Regions from separate parts of the Homo sapiens genome. Here region 2 is linked to region 1. The links are contacts of gene promoters, found by promoter capture Hi-C in human tissues and cell types (Jung and others, 2019). All regions are on one chromosome and are shown on one strand. The core of a region is centred on a gene start or on the middle of the fragment in contact, and the rest is flanking DNA. Distances in the headings are between cores, read along the strand shown.

What was found. Contacts are between HindIII fragments. The study calls those that stand out against the background at their distance.
Region 2: a contact is called between a fragment that was not itself captured here and the fragment with the promoter of OASL in region 1, in 1 of the 25 tissues and cell types used here (stomach).

Annotation. Positions count from the first base shown.
Region 1 is chr12:121,035,713-121,043,214 of GRCh38, reverse strand. OASL (2'-5'-oligoadenylate synthetase like) reads left to right here and starts at 3,969. Exons shown (of 6, transcript NM_003733.4): 1 at 3,969-4,441. The coding sequence starts at 4,244. RefSeq lists enhancers at 3,805-4,224, 3,804-4,303, 4,304-4,805. The HindIII fragment of the contact is 11,669 bases long and covers 3,897-7,502 here.
Region 2 is chr12:121,179,011-121,186,512 of GRCh38, reverse strand. P2RX7 (purinergic receptor P2X 7) reads right to left here. Exons shown (of 13, transcript NM_002562.6): 12 at 6,058-6,159; 13 at 1-2,208. The coding sequence ends at 1,711. All of the region lies in intron 2 of LOC105370032 (a long non-coding RNA gene), which reads left to right. Among named protein-coding and RNA genes, the nearest start is that of P2RX4, 27 kb to the left of the region's middle. The HindIII fragment of the contact is 7,055 bases long and covers 1-6,788 here.

The DNA of each region.
Region 1 (7,502 bases), core at 2,720-5,219:
CCTCCCTGTAATACAGACTCGCATATCCAACTCCCCACCACATATCTCCACCTGGGTCTCTGACAGACACCCCAAACTTCAGTTCCAAAACTGAGTTCCTTCCTCATCTCCATGCCCAGCCTATCCCACCTCAGTTAAGGGCAGTTCAACCTTTCTGTTGCTAAGGCCAAAAGCCCCGGACTTAGACCTTGACTCTGATCTTTCTCTCTCATCATACTCTACCCATTAGCAAGACCTGTCAGCCTTGGAGTCAAAATATATCCAGCGGAATGACATGATGTCCAGATTCACTTCCAAATAACACAGTAGGGAATCTAGGGATGGGGGTAGAATTGAAACCAGACTGTCTATAAGTTGATCATTGTTGAAACTGGTGATGGTACATGGAGGTTCATTGTATTATTCCACTTTGTTTGAAATGTTCCAAAATCAGAAAAATTAAAACATACTATTTCACTGCTACCACTCTGATCCAAGTCAACTGACCTCTTGCCTGGACTGTTGCAGTAGCCTCCTAACCATACTTCTGCCTCCACTTTCACCTCCACTCCACCCTCTGCTTCTAATTTAATTTCCTCCCAGCAGCCAATGTGATTAATTCCATTAAAATGAAAGACCGTGTCACTCCTCCACTCAAAACTCTCCAATGTATGGTGTCAGACTCCTACAGAACAACAAAAAATGCTCCCCAGTGGTTCCCCATTTCATTCAGAGTAAAGCCAACTCCTAACAGTCGTCTTCAAGATCCTATCCACTCCTGCTCCTTGTTTATGGAATAAATCTTTTTAAAAAGATCTTATATCCTGGCTGGGTGCGGTGGCTCACGCCTGTAATCCCAGCACTTTGGGAGGCCGAGGCGGGTGGATCGCCTGAGGTCAGGAGTTAGAGACCAGCCTGGCCAACATGGTGAAACACCGTCTCTACTAAAAGTACAAAAATCAGCTAGGTGTGGCGGTGGGCACCTTGAATCCCAGCTGCTCAGGAGGCTGAGGCAGGAGAATCGCTTGAACCTGGGAGGTGGAGGTTGCAGTGAGCCGAGATTGTGCCATTGCACTCTAGCCTGGGCAACAATTGTGAAACTCCATCTCAAAAAAAAAAAAAAAAAGGATCCTGTATCTATTTGCCTTGCCACCCTTTACTACTTAAACCGCATTCCCTTCCACTCTCTGCTCTTGATCACTCCGTTCCAGGCACACTGATGTTCCTTATACTTGCCACCGGGCAGTACCACCACAGGGTCCTCGTACTTTCCACTCCTTCTGCCATGAAGAATCTTCTTCCTTCTGTTACACACGTGGCTCACTCTACCTTCTTTTTTTTTTTTTTTTTTGAGACGGAGTCTCGCTGGAGTTCAGTGGTGCAATCTTGGCTCACTGCAAGCTTTGCCTCCTGGGTTCACGCCATTCTCCTGCCTCAGCGTCCCGAATAGCTGGGACTACAGGTGCCTGCCACCACGCCCGGCTAATTTTTTGTACTTTTAGTAGAGATGGGGTTTCACCGTATTAACCAGGATGGTCTCGATCTCCTGACCTTGTGATCCACCCGTCTTGGCCTCCCAAACTCTTCACCTTCTTATGTCTTTGCTCAGATGTCTCCTTTTCAGGGAGGCCTTCCCTAATCACCTTATGTAAGACTGAAACCTAAATACATGCCCCCAACACACACACACACACACACACACACACACACACACACACACACAACCTCTTAATCCCTTCTCTTGCTTTGTTTTTCTGCTTAGCACTTATCACCGTCTTCTTTACTATAATTTTACCTATTTATCCTATTTGTTGTTTGTCTCCACTACCAGAAAGAAAACTATCTGCAGGTAGGGATTTTTCACTACTGTTTGTTCACTGTTGTATCCACAGCACCTGCCTGGCACAGAGTAGGTGCCCAGTAAGTATCTGTTGAATGAGTGAACGAATGAGTGAATAGCACTCCAAGATTCAATCCTGCCCACCTGTCCAGGTACATTTCTAACCTCTCCCCTGCTCACCCTTTCATCCCAAGGCACACAGCACACTTGAGTCCCTGGCATATCCTAGCATTATTTATACTTCTCAGCCTCTATGCTGTACCCTCATCCTCCTGGCTGGAGTGCCAGTCTTTTTTATTTTTTATTTGGAGACAGAGTCTCATGCTGTCACCCAGGCTGGAGTGCAGTGGCACCATGATAGTTCACTGCAGCCTGAAACTCCTAGACTCAAGTGGTCCTCCCACCTCAGCCTCCCAAGTAGCTGGGGCTACAGGTGGACACCACCACACCTAGCTATTTTTTAAAAAACTTTTTGTTTTTAAAACAAAAACTGGAGTTTTAAACTCCAGGCCACCACTGCCTCTCACCTGCACCACTGTGCAGTGTCCTGACCATCTCCCTACATCTGTTCTTGCCCTTGCAATCATCCTCACCACAGAAGCAGAGAAGTTACAAGTGTGGCAAAGGGCAGACCGGAATTCAAAGCCAATGTGGAGTGGGGAGTTGGATACATGAGTCTGGATTTCAGGGAAGAGGTATGGATTTAAGATACAAATGTGGGAGTCACTGGGTATGGTGGCTCACGCCTGTAATCCCAGCACTTTGGGAGGCCGAGGAGGGCAGATCAGGAGTTCAAGACCAGCCTGGGCAACATGGTGAAACACTGTCCCTACTAAAAATACAAAAAGTTAGCCAGGCGCGGTGGCGGGCTCCTGTAATCCCAGCTCCTTGGGAGGCTGAGGCACAAGAATCGCCTGAACCTGGGAGGCAGAGGTTGCAGTGAGCCGAGATTGTGTCACTGAACTCCAGCCTGGGCGAGACAGTGAGACTCCATCTCAAAAATAAACAAATAAATAAAAATAAAATTAAAATGTGGAAGTTGCCAGAGTAAAAACATTTAAACGCTGGCTGAAATCACCAAGGGAGTAAGTCTAGAACAAGAAGAGAAAAGGACCCAGGACTAAGCCCTGGAGCACTTAATATTATTCAGAGTTTGGGAAGTTGCAGGTGTCCAGCTATGTTGCCCAGGCTGGTCTTGAACTCCTGGCCTCAAGTGATCCTCTCACCTTGGCCTCCCAAAGTGCTGGGACTACAAGCATGAGCCACCATGCCCAGCCCGGATCCCCAGTCTTTAAGATTCCTCTCAAGCAGGTGTCTGCTAACACCAAATGAAACTCATCTGCCGGCTTCATGTTTTCATGCTTTTTTCCTACTTAACTCATCGCACTGGACTTTTGCAGTCTCTTTTTTCTGTGTCTCCTCCACCGTTCTGGGAGTCCCCTTGGAACAGGAACCTCATCTTATTTTGTCTTCTTGGCTCAATGCATGAACTTCTTGGTTCAGTGCGTGAATCATAATACCTGTTAAACCCACTCTATGGGCCGGGCGCGGTGGCTCACGCTGTAATCCTAGCACTGTGGGAGGCCGAGGTGGGCGGATCATTTGAGGTCAGGAGTTTGAGACCAGCCTGACCAAAATGGTGAGACCCCCGTCTCTACTAAAAATACAAAAAAAAAATTAGCCGGGCGTGGTGGCACATGTCTGTAGTCCCAGCTACTAGGGAGGCTGAGGCAGGAGAATCGCTTGAACCCGTGAGGCAGAGGTTGTAGTGAGCTGAGATTGCACCACTGCACTCCAGCCTGGGCAACAGAGCAAGACCCGGCCAAAAAAAAAAAAAAACAAAAAAACAAAAAAACCCACTCTATGAATAGTGAGGGTCAAAGAGGTTAGAGTCTGGCACAGGTAGACTAGAATTCCCAGTCTGTTCTCTTGGGCTCCAGATTCTCACTCCACCACCTGAACACTAGTGAGTCCCTTCCGTTCCCAAGCCTCAATTTCCTTAGACAGATGTAAGCAGTTGAATTGACTAACAACTATCCAACCCCAACCTACTGGGCAAGTTGCCTCCTTTGGGGTCAAACACTATCCAACTTCAGTTTCCCAACGTCATAAAGGAGAACTCTAAAAGTTGAGAATCGAAACTGATGACAGATTGACTAGACGGCCAGCCTGTTAAGGTGGCCCCAGATATTCCAGCCTCAGCCCAGAGTCCTCCTGTGCCCCTACTGCAGCAAGGGTGTCTCCAAGAAGGGGGACCTGGAGTCAGCCCGTCACACCTGGTTTCCTCTCTGCTAGGGTCCCTCCTCCCACAGAGCACTGGAGGGCAGCTGAGGAGGAGCTACCTTAAAAAAGGAGGTGTGTGCCAGGGAGCTGGGTAGGAGCCTGGCTATATATCTGCCCAGCAGCGGTACTCTCGGGACAGAGATGGCACTGATGCAGGAACTGTATAGCACACCAGCCTCCAGGCTGGACTCCTTCGTGGCTCAGTGGCTGCAGCCCCACCGGGAGTGGAAGGAAGAGGTGCTAGACGCTGTGCGGACCGTGGAGGAGTTTCTGAGGCAGGAGCATTTCCAGGGGAAGCGTGGGCTGGACCAGGATGTGCGGGTGCTGAAGGTAGTCAAGGTAAGACTGGGCTCCTCCAGCCCCCACGCAAGACAAAACCCAGTATCAGAGTCCACGTCCCTGGGGATGCTGGGGACCCCTGTCCTCCTTATCCCTAGCCCATGCTGATGACATCTCAGAATACCCCATCCCACCTAGCTGTCTACACCCCACTGCACCACTGCCTTGAGTAGAATGAGTCTAGTAATAATAGCTCACATTTGGGGGCTCACTGGACTAACCTCTTAACATACACTATCTCTAATTCTTGCACTCTGTGAGATAGGTACTATTCTTTGCCCAGTTTACAGATTAGCAAATGGAGGCTCAGAACCAATACAATGCGAGGTCCTTGGTTGGATCCTAGTGTGAATGAACCATCTGTAAAATATAGTTTGGGGACAACTGGCCTAGATATCAGATAGTACATATATCTGATATGGGAAATCATTGTTGATTTTGTTAGGTGTAACAGTAGTTTTGTGGTTATCAGAAGGTTGTCTTTTGTTTGGACACGAACACTGAAGTATTTTAGGGACAAAGTTCCTTGGTGCCTATAATTTACTTTAACGTGGCTTAGATTAAGCACATGTAGCCAGGAATTTAGACTTGTTGAATCAACTAGTTGGGTATATGAGTGTTAGTTGTATCATCTATTTTTCTATGTGTTTTAACTTTTTGATAATAAAATGACTTTTTTTTTTTTTAGAGACAGGGTCTCGCTCTGTCACCCAGGCTGGAGTGCAGTGGCACAATCACCACTCACTGTAGCCTCAATCTCCCTGAGCTCAGGTGATCCTCAGCCTCCTAAATAGCTTGGGATTACAGGCATGCACCACCATGCTCAGCTAATTTTTGTATTTTTTGTAGAGATAGGGTTTCACCAATGTTGCCCATGCTGGTCTCGAACTCCTGGGATCAAGAATATGCCCACCTTGGCCTCCCAAAGTGCTGGGATTACAGGTGTGAGCCACCATGTCTGGCCGGCCAATAAAATGATTTTTGTTTTTGTTTTTTTTTTTTTGAGACAGAGTCTTGCTCTGTCACCAGGCTGGAGTGCAGTGGCACGATCTCAGCTCACTGCAACCTCTGCCTCCCAGGTTCAAGCAATTCCCCTGCCTCAGCCTCCCAAGTAGCTGGGACGACAGCGCCCACCACCACGCCCGGCTAATTTTTTGTATTTTAGTAGAGACAGGGTTTCACCGTGTTGGCTAGGATGGTCTCGATCTCCTGACCTCATGATCTGCCCTCCTCGGCCTCCCAAAGTGCTGGGATTACAGTGAGCCACTGCACTCGGCCTAAAATGATTTTTTAATGGAGGCTCAGAGAGGTGAGGTGACTTGCCCAAGGTCACACAGTGTTGAAGCTGGGATTTGAACTTGACTCAAGGGACCCAAGCCCCCCTCACTGAGATTTTCCCCCAAGCCCTTCCTCCAGCTGTTTCATGCCACCGCCTGTGCTAGCTAAGATCAAAATTCAAGAGGGTCGGAGCTAGAAAGACTTTGGAGAATCAGACAGTCTCACCAATGACTCACTTAAAAAATTAAGTAAACCGAGGCACAGAGAGGGTGAGAGATACCCCAAGGTCACACAGCGAGTTGGTGGCAAAGGCAAGACTAGAATTAGGACCCCTGACTCCCAGCCCAGTGCTCAAGTTCTCTCTCTAGGGGCAACCAACTCACAGAGGGATCTAGAAGCCCTGGGCCCCTATCCGTTCTTTGCACCTATCCCCAGCATATGAAGCCTGAGGCCATACAATTTATAAGTGAGAAACCACAAATTTTGATATTAGACAGACTCTTCGCTTCTTCCTTTACCAGCTGTGTGGTTTTGACCTTCCCACTCTTCTTTCTCAAACCCACATTCTTTTCATCTGTGATTGGGGCATCATCATCATCTCTCCCTCACCAAGCCAGTGGTGCAATGCAGGCTGAATGATTCATGCACGATAAATGCTCAGAAACAGAAGCATCATTATAATTCTTGCCAAGCTTTCTTCTGGGCCTGGGACTCAAGTCTGACTCTGGCAGACCCTCCTAGACCACCCCCTCCCCAACAAACTTGAGAATAAAGTGGAGGGAATAAGGAATGTCTGGTAAGAGGAGGATGCTACAAGAATAAGTTTATTGTGTGTGTGTGTGTTCCACCACGCCTGGCTAATCTTTGCATTTTTAGTAGAGACGGGGTTCCATCATGTTGGCCAGGCTGGTCTCGAACTCCTGACCTCAAGTGATCCACCCACCTCGGCCTCCCCAAATGCTGGGATTACAGGTGTGAACCACCACGCCCGGCCAAGAATGAGTTTTTACGGCAGGAAATGCTATTTACCTAAGCCTCAAATACTTCCTGCACATCATAGCCACTTTTCCTCTTGAAACCACTAAATGGTAGCAATCCCCAGTGAGCCATGACTAATGAGGAATAATATATCTTATTTAGAGTCTAAACCCTCCCGTTCCCCACCCTCTGAAAATCTAGTGAGCGGAGCTGGTCCACATAAGGGAATGCTCGTCTTCAAATGAATTGTGCTTAAATAGGTTTAAAACTGAAGCAAATCAGGAAGCCTGTTCTGGATGTGTTCTTTTCTCTCTGCCTGGATCTTACCAGTGGGAAAGGCAGAAAGGGAAGTCTACGCCAGGCACAGTGGCTCACGCCTGTAATCCCAGCACTTTGGGAGGCCAAGGTGGGAGGATTGCTTGAGCCCAGGAATTCGAGACCAGCCTGGGCAAAATGGTGAGACCCCCGACTCTACAAAAATATATATAAAAAATTAGCTGGGCATGGCGGTGCATGCCTGTAGTTCCAGCTACTCCGGAGGCTGAGGTGGGAGGATTGCTTAAGCCCAGGAGGTCGAGGCTTCAGTGAGTGAAGATCGTGCCATTGCACTCCAGCCTGGGCAACAGAGCAAGACCCTGTCTCAAAAAGAAAGGGAAGTCTAGACTGGCCTTCGGGGGGAATGTGTCCTTCATTCACACACAGGGTGCCATCTCCAACCCTCTCCCAGGGGGTGGAGGTGCTGGGTCTGAATGCCCATGGTCCCTTGGAAGCAGGGCCTGGCTCACAGCCTTGGGTCACGAGGAAG
Region 2 (7,502 bases), core at 2,012-4,511, 140 kb before region 1:
GGTCTGGTGAGTTACCTGATTTGGTCTATAGCCCTTCTAGAACTGTCCAGTGGAAACCTAAGTTCCTGAGGCTCCCAGGGTTGGTCCGGGCTCCCTGAGAACATTAGAACCAGGGAAGGTATGGGCTGAGTCTGTGTGCCCATTCATCAGGCTTGCCCTCTGTTCCAGTTACCTGTTGCTGTGGAACAAATAAGCCCCAAACTTAGGGACTTAAGATAGCAATGTGGTTTTCTGGATTTATGGGGCAGTTCTCACTTGGGATGTATCATGCGGTATCAGTCATATGTTAGTGGAGTCCAGAATCACCTGAAGGCTTCTTCTCTCTCATGTTTGGTGACTGGGCTTGGATGGCTTGAAAGCTGGGGCTGGTCAGGCACTGTCCACGTGACTGCTTGGGCTTCCTCACAGCAGGGCAGTCTCAGGATAGGCAGACATTTTTTTTTTCTTTTTTTTTTTTTTGAGATGGAGTCTCGCTCTGTCACCCAGCCTGGAGTGCAGTGGCACGATCTCAGCTCAATGCAACCTCCACCTCCCAGGTTCAAGTGTTTCTCCTGTCTCAGCCTCTTGATAGCTAGGACTACAGGTGCCCGCACCATGCCCAGCTAATTTTTGTATTTTTATTAGAGATACGGTTTCACCATGTTGGCGAGTCTGGTCTTGGACTCCTGACTTTAAGTGATCCGCCCGCCTTGGTCTCCCAAAGTGCTGGGATTACAGGTGTGAGCCACCACACCTGGCCAGGATAGGCAGACTTTTAAATGGCGTCTGGCTTCCCCGATAGCAAGAGTTCCAAGGGACAGCAAGTAGAAGCTGTCAGCCTCTTAAGATCAGGATCTGAAACTGACACAATGTCACTTCCACTTTTGGATAAAGCAATCAGAGCCACCCATATTCAAGGGGAGGAGATAAAACCCTTAGGTCTTGGGGGACTTGAGTGTCAAAGAATTTGTGGCCACCTTTAGTTCTCCACATTCTCCAGCCAGGATGAAAAGGGTTTGTTTTTAGTTGGACATTATCCTAGTCTGACCTCATAATGAAATGTTTTGCATTCATGTAGATCTTTACACATTAAAAGACAGTTCATGTGCACTGTCTCAATTTGTCCTCACAATATCTCTGAGATAGTAGTTGGGCAACAAGGAGACAGAGGCACAGAGGTGAGAGGCCTAGGGTCACACAACTTCCTGGGGACAGAGTTGAGACTTACATCTCAATCTCTTTTCTCTGAGTCCATGTAGAGGGATTCTGGTTTGTTTAACCAGGTCACTTTGCTCTCAGACACAGAGAGCAACAGAAGATGAAAGCATATTTCCCTTTGGCTGAAAATGTGGCCACAGAGCTTTGCAGGTGAAGTTCAAGTTGCTGGTAAATGTCATGTTAACATGGCTACTGCAGCCCCTGCTATTGGTAAGGACTCTTTTTTTTTTTTGGGGGACAGTTTGCTGTGCCTCCCAGGCTGGAGAGCAGTGGCACAATCTGGGCTCACTACAACCTCTGCCTCCCGGGTTCAAGTGATTCTTGTGCCTCAGCCTCCCGAGTAGCTGGGATTGCAGGTGCATGCCACCATGTCTGGCTGATTTTTGTATTTTTAGTACAGACAGGATTTCGCCTTGTTAGCCAGGCGGGTCTCCAACTCCCGACCTCAGGTGATCTGCCTGCCTCGGCCTCCCAAAGCGCTGGGATTACAGACGTGAGCCACGGTGCCTGGCTTCAGTAAGGACTCTTGAAGCCACTGTACTGCCCTTCACTCTTCGGAAACTCTTTCCGGATCCTCCAGCGGCAGCAGCTGGGCAGGATGGCAAAGTCAGCCATGTCCTGGGAGCCGAAGCGCCAGGTGGCGTAGCACCTGTAGGCACAGTGCCGCAGCCGGCTGTTGGTGGAATCCACATCCAGCGCCAGCAAGGGCTCCTGGTAGAGCAGGAGGAACTGCAGGACGTGTCTGGACAGGACCAGCTTCCTGAACAGCTCTGAGGTGGTGATGCAGGCCCCCGGCTTTTTCCGGCAGCACAGCTCCTCCAGGCACCTGTGGCTCTCAGGGAGTTGAGATGGGAGGCAGCTTCCACACTGGCACCAGACGGGGCTATCCCTGGATCTAGGAGTCGCCTCCTTTCTAAGCAGCTGTATCTCCTCTGGTTGTCCAGGAATCGGGGGTGTGTCATGGAGGGCCAGGGGCAGCCTGGACAAATCTGTGAAGTCCATCGCAGGTCTCTGAAAAAGCAAGTTTCCAAACCTATTAGCCATGACAAGCCCTCAGGTTCTAGGTTCTTTAATTTTATTAACTTATAAAGTTACGTTTAATATTACATGATTTATAGTAGCCGTCATTTATTAGGTGTAGATATCAGGACCATGCATGTGTTCTGTAAGCATTGCCTCATTCAGGCCTTTGAAGACGCTTGTGAGATAATGTATCCTTGTCTTTATTTTACAGATTTTTTTTTTTTTTTTGAGAGAGGGTCTCACTCTGTCGCACAGGCTGGAGCACAGTGGTGTGATCTTGGCTCACTGCAACTTTCACCTCCCAGGTTCAGACAATTTTCATGCCTTAACCTCCTAAGTAGCTGGTATTACAGGTGCATGCCACCATGCCCAGCTAATTCTTTCGTATTTCTAGTAGAAACAGGATTTCAACATGTTGGCCAGGCTGGTTTGGAACTCCTGACCTCAGGTGATCCACCTGCCTCAGCCTCTCAAAGTGCTGGGATTACAGGCATGAGCCACTGCACCTGGCCTATTTTACAGATTTTGGAAAATGAAATTCAGAAAAGCCAGGCCTCTGTTGAGATGTCACCTCTTGTCCTGACCACCCTATCTAGCAGCTTTTCTCCCACATGATTCCCTTATCACACTGTGGTATTCCACATTCTTCATAGGACTTAGCACTATTGGAAATGGTTTTTGTGTGTGTGTGTGTGTGTGTGTATTTGTTGTTTTTTTTTTTTGAGATGGAGTCTTGCTCTGTCTCCCAGGCTGGAGTGCAGTGGCATGATCTTGGCTTACTGCAACCTCCGCCTCCTGGGTTCAAGCGATTCTTCTGCCTCAGCCTCCTGAGTAGCTGGGACTACAGGCGCGCACCACCACACCCGGCTAATTTTTATATTTTTAGTAGAGACAGAGTTTCACCATATTGGCCAGGCTGGTGTTGAACTCCTGACCTCGAGTGATCCACCCACCTCAGCCTCCCAAAGTACTGAGATTACAAGCGTGAGCCACTGCACCCGGCCATGACTTAGTTTTTAACAAAAATATTTAAAAAGTAAAAATAAAAATAAAAAATGTTAAAAATAGAAAAAAGTATATAGAATAAGGATATAGAGAAAGAATTTTTTTTTTTTTGAGATGGAGTCTTGCTCTGTCGCCCAGGCTGGAGTGCAGTGGTGTGATCTTGGCTCACTGCAAGCTCTGCCTCCTGGGTTCACGCCATTCTCCTGCCTCAGCCTCCCGAGTAGCTGGGACTACAGGCGCCTGCCACCATGCCTGGCTATTTTTTTGTATTTTTAGTAGAGATGGGGTTTCACCATGTTGGCCAGGATGGTCTCAATCTCCTGATCTTGTGATCCGCCTGCCTCGGCCTCCCAAAGTGATGGGATTACAGGCATGAGCCACCACTCCCGGTGAGAAAGAAAATATTTTTATACCACTGTACAGAGTTTAAAAAATTTAAAAATTTATAAAGTAAAACAGTCACAGTAAGCTAAGATTAATTTATTATTGAAGAAAGATAAATATTTTGAAGTAAATTTAGTGTAGCCTAAGTGTACAGTGTTTATGAAGTCTACTGTAGTGCACGGTAACAACCTAGGCTTTCACATTCACTCACTACTCACTGACTCACCCAGAGCAACTTTCAGTCCTACAAGCTCCATTCATGGTAAGTGCCCTATGCAGATGTACCATTTTTAAGCTTTTATATCATATTTTCACTGTACCTTTTCTATATTTAGATATACAAATCTTACCATTCTGTTACAGTTGCTTACCGTATTCAGTACAGTAACATGCTGTACAGGTTTGCAGCCTAGGAGCAATAGACTACACCATATAACCTAAGTATAATAGGCTATTCTATTTAGGTTTGTGTAAATAGAGTCCATGATATTCAGACAACCACAGAATCAGCTACTGATGCGTTTTTCAGAACATATCCCCATCATTAAGTGATGCATGACTGTAGTTCACTTCATACACAAATCCAACAAGAACATTACAAGAATGGAAACACTTTGGTCAGTCTTTCTCAAGAAGAGATGTAAAAATCCTAAATATTAGTGAATGGAATTCAGCAATAAATACAAAGAATAGTACAACACATTCAAATTGAGTTTACTTCAGGAATGCAAGTTTGGCTTAATATTTGAAAATCAATCAGTACAATTCAACTAACAGAAAAAAAGAAGAAAACTCACTGATATTTCAAAAGGAGCAGAAAAGACTTTTTTTTTTTTTTTTTTAGATGGAGCTTGTTCTGTTGCCCAGGCTAGAGTGCAGAGGTGTGATCTCAGCTAACCGCAGCCTCTGCCTCCCAGGTTCAAGCAATTCTCCCACCTCAGCGTCCTGAGTAGCTGGGATTACAGGTGTGCACCACCACGCCTGGCTAATTTTTGTATTTTTAATAGAGACAGGGTTTCGCCATGTTGGCCAGGCTGTTCCTGAACTCCTGACCTCAGGTGATCCGCCCACCTTGGCCTCTCAAAGTGGTGCAATCTTGGCTCACTGCAAGCTCTGCCTCCCAGGTTCATGCCATTCTCCTGCCTCAGCCTCCTGAGTGGCTGGGACTACAGTCGCCCGCCACCATGCCTGGCTATTTTTTTGTATTTTTAGTAGAGATGGGGTTTCTCCATGTTGGTCAGGCTGGTCTCAAACTCCTGACCTCAGGTGATCTGCCTGCCTCAGCCTCCCAAAGTGCTGAGATTACAGGCATGAGCCACCATGCCTGGCCATTTCTGTTGTTTTAAGCCACTTAGTTTGTGGTAATTCAGCCCTAGGAAATTGAAGATGCCCAGCAACCAGAACTGCTGGGGAGAGTGCAAATGTGAACAACCATTTTTCAGCACCGTTTGTTAGTATCTCCTAAAACCGAACATATGTCTGCCTTATGACTCAGCAATTCCACTCTTAGGTAACTGTCCAGTAGAGTGCCATATGTTGAGCATAGCAGCGTTATTGGCATTAGCCCCAAACTGGACACTACCCAAATGTCCATCAACAGTAGGATGGCTGAATAAGTTGGATATTTATAAAACAGAATTATACAATGAGAATGAACTATACATGGCATCATGAACAACTCTCACAAAAATAATGTTGAGTAAAGGAAGCCAGACACTCAACCGCGTATATACCGCTTACATACTACGTGATTCAGTTTTTAGAAAATTCTAGCCAAAGTAAAATTAATCTTTGGAAACAGGATAATGACTACTTTTAAGAGAGGGCAGTTGGTGGGCTTGGTACAGCTGAGGTGGGAGGACTGCTTGAGACCAGCCTGGACAACATAGTGAGACCTCGTTTGTAATTTAAGAATATACATTTTTTTCTTTTTTTTTTTTGAGATGGAGTCTTGCTCTGTCACCCAGGCTGGAGTGCAATGGCACAATCTCGGCTCACTGCAACCTCCACCTCCTGGGTTCAAGCAGTTCTCCTGCCTCAGCCTTCTGAGTAGCTGGGATTACATGTGTGCCACCACACCACCCGGCTAATTTTTGTATTTTTAGTAGAGACGAGGTTTCACCATGTTGGCTAGGTTGGTCTCGAACTCCTGACCTCAAGTGATCCACCCACCTTGGCCTCCCAAAGTGCTGGGATTGCAGGTGTGAGCCACCGTGCCCAGCCAAATTTTAAAAATTAAAAAAGGAGAAAGAGAGGGTAGTGATTGGAGGGGGGCATAAAAGGGACTCCTGCTAGTAATTTTCAATTGTTTAATCTGAGTGCCGGTTATATGAGTATGTTTACTTTGTTAAAATCCATCAGTTTTGATTTGTACAAGTTTCTAGATGTGTTTATATTTAACAGTAAATTTTCTTAAAAAAAAAAAAAAGACAAAATGATTTAACTTACTGGGACTTCTTGGCCCTTGACATCTTGCAGACTTCTCCCTAGTAGCTGCTGGTTCACCATCCTAATGTGGGATTCATCCACAAAGGACACATACTTTAATGTCTAGGAAAAGATGGTTTGAAAGTTTACCCATTTTTGTACAGAATTATCAAGAATTGCCTATCTAAAGGCAACTGTAATTCCTATTTGCCAAATGATAGACTATTGAACAAGCTGGCTCAAAACTCTCATTAACCAAGAATTAATGATTTCTGAGTCTAAAGATAAATCAGAAATGGAACCCCATGCTTTTTTTTTTTTTTTTTTTTGAGTTGGAGTTCACTCTTGTTGCCAGGCTGGAGTGCAATGGCATGATCTTGGCTCACTGCAACCTCCGCCTCCCAGGTTCAAATGATTCTCCTGCCTCAGCCTCCTGAGTAGCTGGGATTACAGGCATGCACCATCATGCCCAGCTAATTTTGTATTTTTAGTAGAGACGGGGTTTCTCCATGTTGGTCAGGCTGGTCTTGAACTCCTGACCTCAGTTGATCCGCCCGCCTTGGCCTACCAAAGTGCTGGGATTACAGGAGTGAGCCACCACGCCAGGCGGAACCCCATGCATCTTAACTTGTAAATTCAACACAGCCACAGCTTACTGCTTAATGTTTTTACATTGGACCCCCCAGTTGCTGCATAAAATTTCTTTGTTGTATTCTGTCAATTTCAGTAACTCTAGATTCAGTATCTCCAGAAATTTGTACTATTGCAACTTAAATTATTTACATGTTTGTTAAATTTCATCTCATCTTGGGCCATGAAGTGGTGATTAGTTTTAGCTGCAAAGATGAACTTTTATTTCAAATTGTGAATGCATATACAATGGACAGTGAATTATGCATCAGCTGCTGGAACAGGACAATCATGTTCTTGGATGAGGGAAAGACAAAGAAATCGTCTTTGTTTTTTTTTTTTTTTTGAGACGGAGTTTCGCTCTTGTTGCCCAGGCTGGAGTGCAATGGCGCAATCCTGGCTCACCACAACCTCCACCTCCTGGGTTCAAGCGATTCTCCTGCCTCAGCCTCTAGAGAAGCTGGGATTACAGGCATGCGCCACCATGCCTGGCTAATTTTTTGTATTTTTAGTAGAGACGGGGTTTCTCCATGTTGGCCAGGCTGGTTTTGAACTCCTGACCTCAGGTGATCCACCCTCCTTGGCCTCCCAAAGTACTGGGACTACAGGCGTGAGCCACCACGTCTAGCCAATCGTCTTTGTTTTTAGGTACCAGAGATTTATCTTTGGGGAAAATCATGGAGTTGAACGCAGAGGACCTGCTTGATAAAGTCTGAATTAATCAAATCAAAACAATACAGATGACGCTAAAATCTCTTTGACTACTCCTACTCCCCCACCCTAAGCTCCTTTCCAGAAGCAGCCACTGGTACAATTTTGTGTACATATATACACCC